Linked DNA regions of Homo sapiens: region 1 is linked to region 2. Evidence: promoter capture Hi-C in human tissues and cell types (Jung and others, 2019). All regions are on one chromosome and are shown on one strand. Each heading gives the region's core, a stretch centred on a gene start or on the middle of the fragment in contact. The rest is flanking DNA. Distances are from core to core; before and after follow the strand shown. Region 1 overlaps ATF2 (activating transcription factor 2). Region 2 holds the start of CHRNA1 (cholinergic receptor nicotinic alpha 1 subunit).

Region 1 (3,560 bases), core at 37-2,536, 390 kb before region 2:
CACATAATTCTGTTACCAAATCTAAGGTGATGTTATTAGCACAACTTGTGCTACTGTTGTTTATATTCATAATTATTACTCTGTAAATTTTTTGTATTTATGTATTTGTTATTCTATTATAATTTTAAACTATAAAACTACTTGCTTTCTTTACATTGCCTAGGAATAATCAAGACTCACTTAAAAAATATTTAATTTAAAAATTGGACTACTGATATTTTAATTGAATATTTTTGAGATATTGAACTGATTTCACTCTTCACATACTCATAATACAGTCTGGAGAAGTTTGTGATACTTTTTACGTGTACCATCAACTTTGAGAAATTTCATCAAAATTTTAGTATACTCTTGGGAATTGTGTGAAGGACCTCTCTCATGTCTGCTGTGAGTGGGGGAAAAAATACTGCTGCTTTCCTTGTTAACATTGGGCTTAATATTTTTCTCTCAGCTGATGAATTTGAGTTACCTAAATTGATGAACTAAACATTATATATCAAATAAACTTACAGATAGCATCAGAATCATGGGTTAAAGATTAATATAAAACTTTTTTTTTTTTTTGAGACGGAGTCTTGCTCTGTCGCGCAGGCTGGAGTACAGTGGTAGGTTCTCAGCTCACTGAACCCTCCACCTCCCAGGCTCAAGCAGTTCTCATGCCTCAGCCTTTTGAGCAGCTGGAACTATAGTCTCCGCCACCACGCCCCGCTGATTTTTTTGTATTTTTAGTAGAGACGGGGTTTCTCCATGATGACCAGGCTGGTCTTGAACTCCTGACCTCAAGCAGTCTGCCTACCTTGGCCTCCCAAAGTGCTGGGATTACAGGGTTGAGCTATCATGCCTGGCCAAAACTCTTATCTAAAAGTCAAACTGAGTATGTAGTTCAGTTTCTGGCCTTAAAAATAAAGAAGATAGTAAGATTAGGTATTTATTAGGCATTAGAAAAATGTACATTTAAAGTCAAAGTAAAATGCAGTAAAATTTATGAACTTAATAAATACTATTTTAGTGTCATGCACTATTCTGTGTATTTTACATATGTTACTTTTATATATTTTGATAGCCCTGAAATGTATTTTTTTTTTTACTGTAGAGGATCATAGTGTAATCATACAATTTAAAATTTTCCTGGCCAGGGGCAGTGGCTCACACCTACAATCCCAGCACTTTGGGAGGCTAATACAGGAGGATCATTGCCTTGATTAATGGAGGCTTTAAGTCACTCTTATTTTAAATTATCCATTTAAAATATCCACTTGGGTTCCTGTAGAGATGACCTCAGTTTCCAGTGTTCCCCCCAGACGTTTGCTTCTTGCCGTAGGATCAGGAAGCTTTAAGGCACTCTTATTTTAAATTATCCATTTAAAATATCCATTTTAAGTTATCCATTTTAAAATTATCCCTGGATAATTTAAAATAAGAGTTTGAGCTCAAGGAATTCAAGACCAGCCTGGGCAACATCGTGAGACCGGTCACTCCAAAAAAAATTTAGCTGGGTGTGGTGGCATGTGTACCTGTGGTTCCGCCTACTGAGGAGGTTGAGGTGGGAGGATCACTTGAGCCCAGGAGATCCAGGTTGCAGTGAGCCATGGTTGGGCCACTGTACTTACAGAGCAAGACCCTGTCTCAAAAAAAAAAAAAAAAAAAATCCTGAATTCAAAATACTTTAGTCTTGAGAGGCAAGTGAAGTCCTACTAGGTCGTGGCTGCAGGTTTTCAAACTCCTTGATTTAGGTTTGTTATTATGACCACTTTGCTATTCCCAAGGTGATCTCTAGGATCATTTCAGGAATGTATGAAGATAGTCATGAATGTACTGAGTGTTCGTATCCTGCTTCAGTTCACCTTGGCTGTGCCTACATGATGACAGATATTGGTGTTTTTTTTTTTTTGAGACAGAGTCTCACTCTGTCACCCAGCCTGGAGTGCAGTAGCGCGATCTCGGCTCACTGCAACCTCTGCCTCCCGGGTTCAAGCAGTTCTCTGCGTTAGCCTTCTGAGTAGCTGGGATTACAGGCACCTGCCACTACGCTCAGCTAATTTTTGTATTTTTAGTAGAGAAAGGGTTTCACCATCTTGGCCAGGCTGGTCTTAAACTCCTGATCTCGTGATCCACCCACCTTGGCCTCCCAAAGTGCTGGGATTACAGGCATGAGCCACTGTGCCCAGCCCATGATAACAGATGTTTGAAAGGGAATAAAGTCGTGTCTAGTGTCATTGTGCTAGCGTGCCCCTCCCCCTTCAGTGTTGGCCCCAGATCTTCCCTTTATTTTTTTATGTTTGTGGGAAAGGGGCCACATCAGCAGCAATCATCAACCAATCAATAGGATCTACTTAGTGGTGAACATATTGGCTGTTTAATTGGTAAGAGTCGCTGGCCTGACCACACCACAGCATGGCCACTTGGGTTCCTGTAGAGATGGCCTCAGTTTCCAATGTTCCTCCCAGACGTTTGCTTCTTGCCCAATCGAGAGGGGATCTCAAGACTCCTGATTGGTCATTGTGAGCTCTCACCCTGCGTGGCTGTGTAGATAGACTGCATAGATACATGAAGTGGGGATGGGGGCCAAGGTCCTATTACTGCTGTTTGGAAATAACTTGCCTCTTACAGATCCAGCCTTATTGTTTTTCTGACATCCTAGTAATGGCAGATCCTGCACAAAGTGGATTTCAGAGTTAATACTGTGAGGAGACAAAATAATGAGAATAGTTTTACCAAAGACAATGAAATATTGCATAATGTCTGCATTTTGCCATTGATTTGAGTGCATCTTTAGAAAACTGAATTTCACGAAAACCCAGGACATTGCTGGAAATTGTATGCCCTTTAGAAACTTTATGTGAATTTTTATACAAATGCTGTTTTATGAGTTATGTAAAATGTTACAAAAATAGAAAAAAAATACCCTGTGTCTATAAGGTGGTGCTGCTGTTGAAGTCGTGGGGCACAAGTCCATCTTCCTGGTACCTTACAACTCTTCTTACCGTATTAATTTTCTGTTTCTGACTCATACATTACCACCTACTTAACATCTTAAAACAATAAAGATTTATTGTCTCACAGTTTTAGTAGGCCAGAAGTCCAGGCGGGCCCAGCCGAGTCCTCAGCTTAGGGACTTACAAAGCCAAGATGAGTGCGTTGGCAGAGCTGCATTCCTTTTTGGAGTCTCTAGGGAAGAATCCACTTCTAAGTTAATTCAGGTGGTTGGCTGAATTCAGTAGGTCTTTCCTTTCTTTGTGTCCCTCTTTCCTTACTGGCTATGAGCCAAGGGCTGGTCTTTTCTCCCAGGAGCTGAAGTGCTTTCCATGTGGCCCCCTCCAGTAATGGCAGGTCAAATCCCTCTCGTGCTTCTAACCTGTCTGACTTCTTTTTCTGGCTGAATCTCTGACTCCAGATGGAGAAAGTTCTCAGCTCTTGAGGTCTCTTGATTAGATTCCTGGATAACCCAGGAATCTATCTTATTTTTGGATCTGTAGTCCTTTTTTTTTTTTTTTTTTTTTTTTTTGTTTTTTGAGACAGAGTCTTGCTCTGTCACCCAGGCTGGAGTGTAATGGTGCAAT
Region 2 (3,418 bases), core at 29-2,528:
TCCACTCATGCCACTGGCCAGAGGTCAGTCCCATGGCTCCATTTAGATGGAAGGGGCTGGTCAGAGGGTGGGGGTTGTATTTCTGCCACGGGGCTATTCCATGGAAGGGAGAGAACCAAATTTTTTTTTAGCAAACAGTTAACTGATCTCCCACAGTTTAAACAAAAAATATAAATAGTATGAGCTTGCAGCTCTCTCCTCTACCCTCCAAGCCCCTTCTCTAATGATTTGTTTGGATCCACTGGAATGAGAGGATCTGTCAGGATGTTGTTGTGGGCTTGAGGTGAGAGGACCTTTCTCACCTAGTTCCATGTGGGAAGGAGGCCTGGAAGGAACAGGCAGGGTACCTTTAAGTAACTGTCTCCTTCTGGGAACTCACCTCACACCCTGCAAAGAAGCACAGCTAGGGTAACAATACTTCTCAGACTGAGAAATTACTAACTGCTGGTTTTTAGGATGTTTTTCAAGCAAGATAATTGAAAAGCTGAACCACTCTGCTCTTTGCTTCCCTGAGTGAGAGTAGGCAGAGGGACGGATGGAAGGAGGCAGGAACCCGGAACGACTGCTGATGCGGTGGGACACTTTTTCCCAATAATTACTCTTCGCTTGAATCACAGTGCATAGGACGTGGGCAATTTGCTCCAGCTAATGGTTCGTGTGGGATAGGTATTGCCTGATACAGAGGCAGGGGTTGGAACAGCCACTCTGGGGGCCAGTAAAGCCAGTTTTATGGAAGAAGCTGTCTTTGTTAAAAACCAAACCCAATCAACGTGGGGGCTTCCCAGCAGCAGACTCAACACCAGCTACACTTTTCTGAAATCCAGGCAGTCAGAAAAGCCCCCGGCACCCTCAGCCTAACACTGAAGCAGAGGAAATGAAACTGAAGCCATGTTTGCAGAATGTGGATTTTTGTGGTTTAGGACAAACAGCTGACTATCTACTCAGACCAAATGACCCTAATCAAGTCAACCCACAGAGATGAGGTTCTGGTTTACACAAAAGAGAGGCAGTTTGCTCACCATTTAAAATAATTCCTTCCTTCCTATACATTTTTTTTTCATTAAGATCTGACTACTGGTGCATTTAAAATATAATGCAGTTCATACTCAGCTTGTCAAGGGTAAGCAATTGTGTAAAGTGAGGCATATCTGTAATGGTGTACAGTCCCAGTAACTCCCTGGGCTCCAGGGCTGAGGGCAGCCCAGCTGTCGCTCCCACAAACAGGTGGTGTAAAACAATAGCTCTAGTGAGCCGACTCGCTTTCCAAACCCTCCAGCAGACAAGCACCCAGCCAGAGTGCCAGTGAGAAGCACAGGCCACCACTCTGCCCTGGTCCACACAAGCTCCGGTAGCCCATGGAGCCCTGGCCTCTCCTCCTGCTCTTTAGCCTTTGCTCAGGTAAGTGCTGGGGTCAGGGGTGGGGAGAGGGCTCTCCTTTGAGGCTAAAGTGCTGGAGGCCCCCAAATCAAAGTCTTGCTTCTTTGATGAGACCACAGAATGGCAGAGCCTCCCCAACCAGGGGCTGCTCTGTCAGTTTCTTCCTGATGTTAGCTTGATTGAGTTTTTGGATAAAGATTTTTAGTTTGCCTTATCTAATTAAAATAGAAACTGCCTGGTCAAAGACTTCAAGATAGACACGCATGTCTCTCCCTCCATCATGCCTGGCAGCCGACTCATCCCTCTGAACACTCGGCACCATTTGTAGGACCTGGACCACTTGTGGATCATGGTAGTGTCCGGGGGTTCATATTTAAACAACTATGGATACTTAGAACAGTGCCTTATAATCACATACAATGGAGTTAACAAGTCCCTTTACTGCTCCAGGAGAATTCTAATAATAAAGAGGACTGATTGACAGCTACATGTGCTGGAGATAGAAACCAGTTAATAATCATAACTAAACTCTCTCCACAGAGACAAATATTTTTTAATTTTTTCAAAATTTCTGAAGTTAAAAAAAATTCCATATGAATACATTCCTACCTACTTTTTTTTTTTAAGATGTTACTATATATAGGTTTGGGTTTGAATTGAAACTATAAAACCTTGCACAGCATTTGACCTGCATTCTACTCTGGAATGTGTCCTAACACAGCAGCTGAAACACCATCCTGAATCCCAGACTTCCGCTAGAGGGAAACAGGAGATGTTTGCTGATTGCTTCACATAAAAGTTTACTGGTGATATCATCCCAACTGAGAAACAAGGTGGCTGACATCCTGTGATTTTTCATTTCCAATATTGCTCTGAAAAACACAGGCCTTCTGGTCAAGAGGCAAAAAGCTTTATTATTAATTTTTTTCAATATCAGAGTTGAGTGAAAGAGCCTAAACTCAGATAAATTATATCATGTGGGATTTGGACTCTGTCCAGCCAAAGCTGGCCTGATGTGTGTGTGTGTGTGTGTGTGTGTGTGCGCGCGCGTGCACACACATGCGTGCACGCAAAACCACAGTCACAGGAAAATTCTTAAATGATATGCTTTAATGTAAACATCCTTAAGAGATCTCTTAGGATTTTGGTTATTGCTAACCAAAAATGCATGATTAGCTATTAAAGAAGTATGTGATATGTATTTAGGTCAAATCTCGAGTTTGCTGGCATTGATTTCCATGGGTGTTTTATAGAAATTTAGAGCTAGATCAGGCAGTCCAACATCCTCAATTTTTTATTACAAGGAAACTAAAGCTGACCTGCCCAAGGTCACTTAATTTATACATTTTGGAATGTGGTCAGTTGGAGACTTGGTTTATTACATGCACAGTCAGAAAACACAGCCTGAACTAGCCAAAGGTAGCAAGAGATACAGAATCAGGTTAAGATAATAATGATCCATGGGACTAGTAACAGTTCAAAATTTCTTTTGCCCAGCCCAGGGAGCTATTTCCTACATACAAATACAAATGGAACCAGTGTGGTACAAAAGGAACACTTTGAAACTGTGGTTGAGTTTCCCTTCTTAGAATCAGTCCTTTGTAGACAAAATTGTCATTTATATCAGGGACTCTTTTCCTGTGTTAGCTTAACACAGCGTGATCTCTGTTCTATTTATACAGCACTTTTCATTTCAACTTTTTCTTTTCTTTGCCTCTGGAATCTCAAGCACTTCATTGCCGTCTTTCTTACGGCATATCACTTTCCAACTTGTTCACAGTTATTTACGTAAATGACAAATGTCAATCTCCATGAGGGTAGGAAGAAGGATTCAGTTTTGAATATCTCGAAGCTCCCAAAACAATGCTTTGCTTACAGTAAATGCTCAACAAATATTTCATGAATAAATTAATGTTACCATCATCTGAATAAAGATTACAAATATAATCTTGCTAAAAAGGGGAATTTGACATTATTTAATTTTTTATTTGCATATTTGTTTATTTACACCCTACCTTTTTACAAAAGTATTTACTGTGAT

What was found. The method cuts DNA at HindIII sites, captures the fragments that hold promoters and counts their contacts. A contact is called where the count stands out against the background at its distance.
Region 1: a contact is called between a fragment that was not itself captured here and the fragment with the promoter of CHRNA1 in region 2, in 1 of the 25 tissues and cell types used here (pancreas).

The regions. Positions count from the first base shown.
Region 1 is chr2:175,156,323-175,159,882 of GRCh38, reverse strand. The region is part of intron 1 of ATF2 (activating transcription factor 2); the gene reads left to right. Among named protein-coding and RNA genes, the nearest start is that of MIR933, 9.6 kb to the left of the region's middle. The HindIII fragment of the contact is 7,995 bases long and covers 1-3,560 here.
Region 2 is chr2:174,762,332-174,765,749 of GRCh38, reverse strand. It overlaps CHRNA1 (cholinergic receptor nicotinic alpha 1 subunit), which reads left to right and starts at 1,278. Exons shown (of 9, transcript NM_000079.4): 1 at 1,278-1,398. The coding sequence starts at 1,356. RefSeq lists an enhancer at 778-1,277. The HindIII fragment of the contact is 8,948 bases long and covers 1-3,418 here.